3 separate regions of the Homo sapiens genome follow, and regions 2 and 3 are each linked to region 1. Evidence: promoter capture Hi-C in 16 types of primary human blood cells and fetal thymus (Javierre and others, 2016). All regions are on one chromosome and are shown on one strand. Each heading gives the region's core, a stretch centred on a gene start or on the middle of the fragment in contact. The rest is flanking DNA. Distances are from core to core; before and after follow the strand shown. Region 1 holds the start of WDHD1 (WD repeat and HMG-box DNA binding protein 1). Region 2 overlaps TBPL2 (TATA-box binding protein like 2). Region 3 overlaps CGRRF1 (cell growth regulator with ring finger domain 1).

Evidence for each region. The method cuts DNA at HindIII sites, captures the fragments that hold promoters and counts their contacts. A CHiCAGO score of 5 or more calls a contact.
Region 2: a fragment that was not itself captured here is called in contact with the fragment with the promoter of WDHD1 in region 1 in 1 of 17 cell types (activated CD4 T cells); the score reaches 5.1 in activated CD4 T cells.
Region 3: a fragment that was not itself captured here is called in contact with the fragment with the promoter of WDHD1 in region 1 in 2 of 17 cell types (M1 macrophages and total B cells); the score reaches 7.1 in M1 macrophages.

The regions. Positions count from the first base shown.
Region 1 is chr14:55,025,593-55,028,348 of GRCh38, forward strand. It overlaps WDHD1 (WD repeat and HMG-box DNA binding protein 1), which reads right to left and starts at 1,507. Exons shown (of 26, transcript NM_007086.4): 1 at 1,436-1,507; 2 at 1,119-1,211. The coding sequence starts at 1,195. It overlaps SOCS4 (suppressor of cytokine signaling 4), which reads left to right and starts at 1,644. Exons shown (of 3, transcript NM_199421.2): 1 at 1,644-1,879. RefSeq lists enhancers at 1,329-1,856, 1,857-2,383 and a silencer at 1,485-1,534. The HindIII fragment of the contact is 4,247 bases long and covers 1-2,756 here.
Region 2 is chr14:55,433,941-55,436,640 of GRCh38, forward strand. TBPL2 (TATA-box binding protein like 2) reads right to left here. Exons shown (of 7, transcript NM_199047.3): 2 at 2,621-2,700; 3 at 1,907-1,994. It also overlaps a transcript of FBXO34 not described here. Among named protein-coding and RNA genes, the nearest start is that of TBPL2, 5.3 kb to the right of the region's middle. The HindIII fragment of the contact is 1,007 bases long and covers 780-1,786 here.
Region 3 is chr14:54,528,531-54,531,230 of GRCh38, forward strand. CGRRF1 (cell growth regulator with ring finger domain 1) reads left to right here. Exons shown (of 6, transcript NM_006568.3): 3 at 1,519-1,696; 4 at 2,373-2,520. Among named protein-coding and RNA genes, the nearest start is that of CGRRF1, 20 kb to the left of the region's middle. The HindIII fragment of the contact is 169 bases long and covers 1,270-1,438 here.

The DNA of each region.
Region 1 (2,756 bases), core at 257-2,756:
ACCTGATCACATCTCTCTGCTTCAAGCCTTTAATACCTTCTCAGTGCTTTTAGGATAAAACGAGATTCCTTAATAAAGTCCAGAAGGTCTTGGATAGGACATCCATTGCCTAACTTCACAGATTCATCTCTCACTAAACTCTGCATCACTCTCCACATTTTAGTAAGGCTAGTTTTCCTTCAGTTCTTTGAGCATACCATGATCCCTGGCCCCATTGGGCCTTTACACACAGTATTGCCTCTGCTTACTATGCCAACATCACCACCCCACCGCCACCACCACTCATCTCTTTATACTGCTTAATGCCTGCTCCGTCTTCAGATGGCGTCTCAAGAAACACTTGTCCAAAGAAGCCTTCCCTGACTCCTTTAACTAGATGAGCTTCTCCTCATACATGTTTATCACTGCACATATTACTTGTTTCTAAATACACATTTATTTTTGTGATTAATTTGTGTTCAATGCCTGTCAATCCAAAAAGACCTTAAGCTCAAAGGAGGAAAAGACTGTGTCTGGTTCGCTCTATTCTATCTGTAGTCCCCAGCAAAAGAGACACACAAGTATTTTTTCAATGAATCAATCAACATAGAAGCGACAGTGGAAGCCGTGCAATCGAGCAGTAGTGCGTAAGAATGGGACTTGGAAAGATAAAAGGGACCAGAATAACCGTAGGAAAATATTATAGTTTAGGAATCAGAGGAAAAAATTGTTTTAAGCCGTCAAAAAGTTAAAAAAAAATAAGCAAAAAGGGAAATAGCATCACTAAAGGCATGGAAGGATATCATTCCAAACAGAACAGGCCACTGAATTTGACAAGTAGGCAGTAACTAGTGATCTGACAAAATTAATAATGTAAGATGCAGGGAAGGGGAAAATATATGGAGAGAAGCTCGCATCTTTCCAACTCCTCTGGAAGTACGATTATAACTTTGTCGATATACTACAACTACCATGACGGCCCGAATCAAACAATAATCTAAAGAAATATGTGTGCCATTTTAGATTTCAACATTATTCCTCTATCCGCATGAGTCATTTTTAGCTGACTGCACATATAAAGTTTAAGGATAAATGTTTTAACATTTGCACCTAAAACGTTGTTTCTCAAAGAACCTTACCTCCCAGAATCATCAAAACAGACCTCCGTGTGTCCCTCTGTATGCCCATATCTCATTGGCTTCCGTGTGGCAGGCATGTTTTCCTTTACCTATCTGAAAATGTTTTATAAAAGCCAGTCTTATTATTTCAAAAGAGAAAAGCAGCGAGGCTAGGGATAGGAAGAGAGCTTAGTCTCCTCTAGGGCCCGTTCTCCGCAGCCCGGTTTCCCCCACCCGAGTGACACCAGCGGGATAAGGCAGAGGGTCTGTCAGACAATAAGCCGGAAAGGGAACACGCATCTCCTTGGTGGACGCGGGCAGCCGGAGTGGGGACTCACCCGGGTGACCGAGCCTCCGCCACTGAGGATCCACAAGAGCTGCTTCCCGCGCTTCGGCTCGCTCACCACACTGCGCCTGCGCCGACCCGCCCACGCCCAGCGCAGGTCCCGACAGAGGTCGCCGGGTGGTGGCGTCAGCTGCGGCGCCCTCCGCGTGGAAATTAGCCGGTTGCCCGGGCAAATCAGGGAGGAAGGGAGGGAGCTGAACACGGAAGTGGTGGCGGCGCCCAGGGAACCGGCGGAGGCGATGACCGTGACGGCTGGGTTGGGACCGGAACGCCGAAGCGGGGTTGGGGGTGGCAGAAAAGCATCTGCTTTGTAAGACCTACACGAGGTGCAGGAGTGGTTGGGCCTCCCCTCTCCACTTAAGCAAGCGCCCAGACTGATGGCGATGGTGATGGCAGCAGTTACTCGCACAACCCCAGTTAAGCTGCGCTCCGGGAGGTGAGTGGGGGAAGGGTGGCCGCTGCCTGGCCTCGCAGGCCGGGGTCTTGTTCCTGCCCTCCAGGCTCTCCTCCCAGGAAACAATATCCGGATCCCTAAAAGGATCCGGTCTCTTTCTTGGGGCCCAGTTAGCAGACAGATCTTTGAGCATCTTCTCTGGAAAAGAAGGCGAGATCTTCTAGAGCCTCTAATCTTGGCATCCTTCGTGCCCTCACCTTGTCGCTTCTGTAGAGATAAAGAAGGAATGACTTAATTTCTGTTCCGGTTGGTTCTCTTGGTACCTGAAGGTATAATTAATTAATGCTCAATTAATGCTTATTCTTTGCGACTCTATATATCCGTTATGAAGAAAGTAACTTGTGTTCTCTATTCAGATCCCACCTAAAGTTTACTGAAGTGAATATTTATAACCAAAAGAAGAGTTATAACTTAGTAGCCTTGAGCACTTACATTTGATCCATGCAATATCTGCTAAAGTCTTGGCCACTAAGTTTAAGTTTATGCTTTTCTTGTATCTTCATTCTCCATATTGGTACAGCAGCCTGTGATGAAAACCTTCAGAATGATATTCTTTCATTTGTACTTATCTTTGAGAATTTTTCTGCGTTTTTGTGATACCTTCCAGTATCAATCACATTTATTTTATTACCTGAGACGTTTTTCTGTTGAAGAGGTTTCCCTATTGTTTTTTTCAATCTAGTTCCATTGTGAAAAGTTGCAAACACACAGGCAAACCGTCGTGTTCTTACCGTGGGTGGCATTGTGTGAGGCGTTGTTTTTAGTACTAGAGCTCCAGATAGCCTTGCTAGACGCTGAGGTTTGTATATGAATGAAGAGGAAGAATGATTGGCTTAAAAACAACTTGGGATTTGTGGAA
Region 2 (2,700 bases), core at 33-2,532, 410 kb after region 1:
CTGTTATGTTTCAGTTCCTATTTATTCTCATGATAGGATGAACTTGTGTTTATTATCCTCATTTAGTGCTCAGGGAAAACAAGTAGCAATATAACCTCCAATATTACACAGGAAGTGGTAAAGTTAAGATTCAAAACCCACACTAATCAGATTCTCTGCTTTTTACTTTGACACACTTCCTTTTTCTTTTGAAGAATCTTTTGGGAAAAAAATAAGTATGTTAAAGGCTCACCAAGACTTCAGAATGTACTGAAAAATGACCAAAATGCAGAAGAGTCTGTATGATAGGCATGCTAAAGATGAATGACAGAAAGTTGATGTCAAGGTTCTTGCCTCTTATAGTTCTCAAAGTGTCATTCAAGACCAGCAGCATCAGCAAGCCCTGCAGGTGAGGCTGACACTCGTGAGGGTAGGGAACCTCTGGCCTGCCACATGGACGTGTCATCAAATGGCCTGCTCCTACACAGATAGTCTCTTCACCCCAACTCCTCTCCCCGGTTAAGCTAGGAAGGAAACTGGGGTGGGTGCTAGCTTAAGGGCCAAGCCAGAATTTCTCTGGGTGTCAAGCACAAGTTCAGAGAGATCCTATACACTCATCCCCAGCCCTGCCCACCCCTACCCCTCGTCCAAAATGAGAGGTGTGCTGAGGATGGTGGACAATAAAAGTTGCCTAAAATGCTGATTGTTCAATAATGTGATCACAGCTGCAGCTGTGAGGATCTTAGCTCATCTTTGTGTCTGTCCTCACCATTGTCAGCTGTATGAAATATCAAAAGGAAAGCTTTATTGTATTCGGGTAACATCGAGGTAACATTTAAATTCAGATGTCAGCAACAATACTAGGGCAACAGCAAAAACAAATAATAGTTGATGCCTGCAAGGTCTCTGGGTTCCTACGAATGTGACCTTTTTTCATCTAATTCCATAAATCCTCCACCACCTAAGCCAGTGAACTTTTTCCCAGTAGGAAGCAGGTCTTACTCATCTTTGTACTCCTAAGTACAGAGCCTGGCAAATCGTTAAAAGTTGATAGGATTGACAAACCCAATTACCCTAGGTAAACAAGCCATTGAAAACAGGATGCCTGGCCTTGGCAGGATACAAGAAAGAATAGATTTTATTAAACTTTGAGGAGGACGAAAAAAAAAATCCCTGAATCTTACATTAGTAAATAGGAGCTTGAACTTTATACTTTAAGCAGTTTAGCCTTCTCAGATAAGAGGAATTGTAATGGAAAGATACATAAGTGTCAGGTAGCTGAGACAACATTTGGCAAAAATTATTTCCAGAAATTTGATGGCATTTTAAGATAGTTAGCATCCCAATAGTCAGGTGAAATTTTTTTTTTTTTTTTGGAGACGGAGTCTCGCTGTTACCCAGGCTGGAATGTAATGGCATGATCTTGGCTCACTGCAACCTCTGCCTCCTGGGTTCAAGTGATTCTCCTGCCTCAACCTCCTGAGTAGCTGGGATTACAGGCACCCGCCACAACATCCAGCTAATTTTTGTATTTTTAGTAGAGACGGGATTTCACCATGTTGGTCAGGCTGGTCTCAAACTCCTGACCTCGTGATCCACCTGCCTCAGCCTCCCAAAGTGCTGGGATTACAGGAGTGAGCCACCGTGCCCAGCCTAAGTGAAAAATTATAATCATACTAAAAAATATTTTTGAATGACAAGGGAGAGAGCTTATCTTTAAGGAACTGCTCAATTACTGCTTTATTCAGCATAAAGAATGAGATTATTTTTTATAACTCAAAACAGATATTAACCCTGAGTTGCCAAAAGCTTTTTCAGTAACAATTTTTTAAGAAAAAACAGAGGAATTAGTCAATATCATGATCATATTAAGAAAAGTAAATCTAAAGAGAAGCTAATTATTGGAAGGAATACTGAGAAATGTTACCTTTGGGTTATATTCTGCATTTTTTGCATGCAAAGCTATTTTCTTCAGATCCAACTTACAGGCCAGGTTTACAGTGGAAACTATATTCCTGAAGAAATAAGTCAGTTTAGAAACTTATATCAGATATAAAGAGTAAAAAAAAAAAAAGACAACTTATTTTCTCATTTCTTAGGTTATACCTTAGCAATTTCCTAGGGGGAGAATTATTCCAAATGTGAAATACATGACATGATTCCTAGTTAAGTGTAAAATCCCAAAGTGAAGTGCTAAAGAGCCTTTCCTAAAATTTCATGACTAGCTGCTAAAATTAAGTTTTAGATCTTTTTTCAAAACAATGCCTCAAAATAGAAATTACAATTCTGAATCAATTTGCAAATCAAACTCAATTTTACATCTTTATATCCTTGGTGTTTATCCAACCCTACCCACAATTTTCAGCAACTACAGTGCTGTAGTATAAACAATACAATCCTTCAAGAATGCATCTATTAATCTTTAAGTCCCCTCCGCCCACCTTAGAGGTCAAGAATTAGTGCTTTGCCTTACAGATAATCAAACTGTCTAAAGCCACAATCCATTTAGAACTGATAAAACAAAGAATTATGAAATCTGAAATTCTCTTCCCTACTATTATCCTGAAATTAGTTGTCATCGCATTCAGGAATATAAAATGTGTACCCAATGTGCTCAATTAAAACAAAAATAAAAACTTACTGTAGTTGAGGTACAATTCCACAACATTCTGAAATAGGGGTCATTGGTGTCATGGGAGTTATGGATGCCAGAGACAAGGA
Region 3 (2,700 bases), core at 104-2,603, 500 kb before region 1:
TTTTCTATTTTTTCCTTTCGTATCTACCTCCAGCTTTTTTCTTCTGCCTCATGTTATGTGGTTCTACAGTGACAAAGGGAAAAATATGTGTGATTTTGTATGTGTGTGTATATGTGTGTATATGTATTTGTGTATGTATAAATAAAATGTTTTCCTTCAGCTATTTAATATCAAATGGAATTTTTCATTCTTGAGTTAATACCTGATGATTGGAATCATAAAAATTTGAAATCAAAGCCTGCTCCAATTAACCTATGCAAAGTTCCTACCAATTAAAATTTTTCCTTAAGTATGATTAGAAATGGCCATGTATCAATGCTACTCAGACTCTCAGACTGTGTGTACATACTACTAAATACTGAGAGTAAAATTGGAAAAATCAGTTTTTGGTATCCTGTGGAGCATCTGCTTGTATTTGTGTATCTTCTTCTAACATATACTCTTGATCACATTTTAAAAAATAGGTAATATATCAATCAGAATTCTTATTAGCAAGCAACAGAAACAACTTCAATAAAAGGATATTGGGTAGCTTACAGAATTGCTGGCAGGTTTGGAGAGCCAAAATCAGATGCCAAGGCTGTTGAGCCAGGAACAATGACCAAAACCAGGCCCTTTTTATCTAGTCAGTGTATCAGTGCCAAGGAGTACTACACGTTACAGTTTGCGCTGCTACAGTTTGCACCCCCAGCAGTATGAAAGGCTGGATGTTGCTACCCTTGAATGTGATATTGCTACAAATACCACTAGGAGGGGGAAATCACATAGGTGACACAAAGTAAGTCCTATACAAGTGTTAAATAAAACTGTATAATTTCACATCTACTTACAATTTGTATATCCATTTAATCAGGTCTACTCAAATTGTTATATCTTCTTAAGTTGAAAGTGAACAACTGAATTAAGATACCACTATTAAACTCTTTATGTTTTGGAATCCCCACTCTTTTCCTCAGGATATTTTGCATATTACATGGGACATTAAGTCTGTGACAAGCCTGTATGTTAATGTTGTCAATGTATACATTAATGTTAGTAAAGCTCAGTTTCTTTTTAATATTTTTCTTACAACAGCGATCATGTTGTGGAGCCTATAGGTTGTACATATCCCCTTTAGAGGACAGCTGTATTCTGCTGCACTGTTTCTTGTCGTTAGGATCATATACACTATGAGAGTGGTAGGTTATCAATAGTGAACTGTATTTTAGTTTTAAAAATCTAGATGGGAAATGTCTTAGAGTCGCCAAAAAAGAAAATTAACAGTTTCTAAGCTTTAATAGATAAATAGTAAGAAATAGTTTTTTGATAGCTCTCAAAAAATGTGTAGACATTGAGCTTTTATATCTCTTGTTACAGAGGCCAGTTCCTTCGTTTATAGGAGGCATACCCTTTAACAAGTTCTTTTAACTGCCATCATCCTGGCCAGCATCCAAAAGGAAGCTTTTGTTACTCACCCTGTATGATTGTATTAGAAGTTACATTAAATCACTTTCATTCTTTCTCCTTTGTTTTTTACAGCTGGCATAACCTTGACAACAGATTGCCTTGAAGATAGCCTCCTTACATGCTACTGGGGGTGCAGTGTTCAAAAATTATATGAAGCTCTGCAGAAGCATGTTTATTGCTTCAGAATAAGCACTCCCCAAGCATTAGAAGATGCTCTGTATAGTGAATATCTCTATCAGGAACAGTATTTGTATCCTTTCGTCTGATATACCCATTAGCACTGAAAATTAGACTTCTTATGGATAAAGTGTTGCTAACTTATTGATCATTCTTGGTATACTAGAAGCATGTTTATTGCTTCAGAATAAGCACTCCTCAAGCATTAGAAGATGCTCTGTGGAGTGAATATCTCTATCAGGAACAGTATTTGTATCCTTTCATCTGATATACCCATTAGCACTGAAAATTAGACTTCTTATGGATAAAGTGTTGCTAACTTATTGATCATTTTTGGTATACTAGAAGCATGTTTATTGCTTCAGAATAAGCACTCCCCAAGCATTAGAAGATGCTCTGTGGAGTGAATATCTCTATCAGGAACAGTATTTGTATCCTTTCATCTGATATACCCATTAGCACTGAAAATTAGACTTCTTACGGATAAAGTGTTGCTAACTTATTGATCATTTTTGGTATACTAGAAGCATGTTTATTGCTTCAGAATAAGCACTCCTCAAGCATTAGAAGATGCTCTGTGGAGTGAATGTCTCTATCAGGAACAGTATTTGTATCCTTTTATCTGATATACCCATTAGCACTGAAAATTAGACTTCTTATGGATAAAGTGTTGCTAACTTATTGATCATTTTTGGTGTATTTTTGTTCTTATGGTTATAGTGGCAATTTACCTTTACATTTTCAAAAAGTATTAAAAAGGATAGCAAAGAAGAAATATATTGCCAGTTACCAAGAGATACTAAAATTGAAGACTTTGGTACAGTACCCAGATCTCGCTATCCATTGGTAGCGCTATTGACCTTAGCTGATGAGGATGACCGGGAAATTTATGATATTGTAAGTAATTGAAAATTTTGAAAGCATTACCTTTAAGTGATTTGAATGGTGGTTCTTCATTATTTGATAAATAGAAAAAGTTTTATTTTAATTTCTGAGGATGTGCATTTGGCCTACAACAACTATATACCTATTTGGTTTTTATATGTGAAACAGTACCTTCAGATTATGACTCATTTC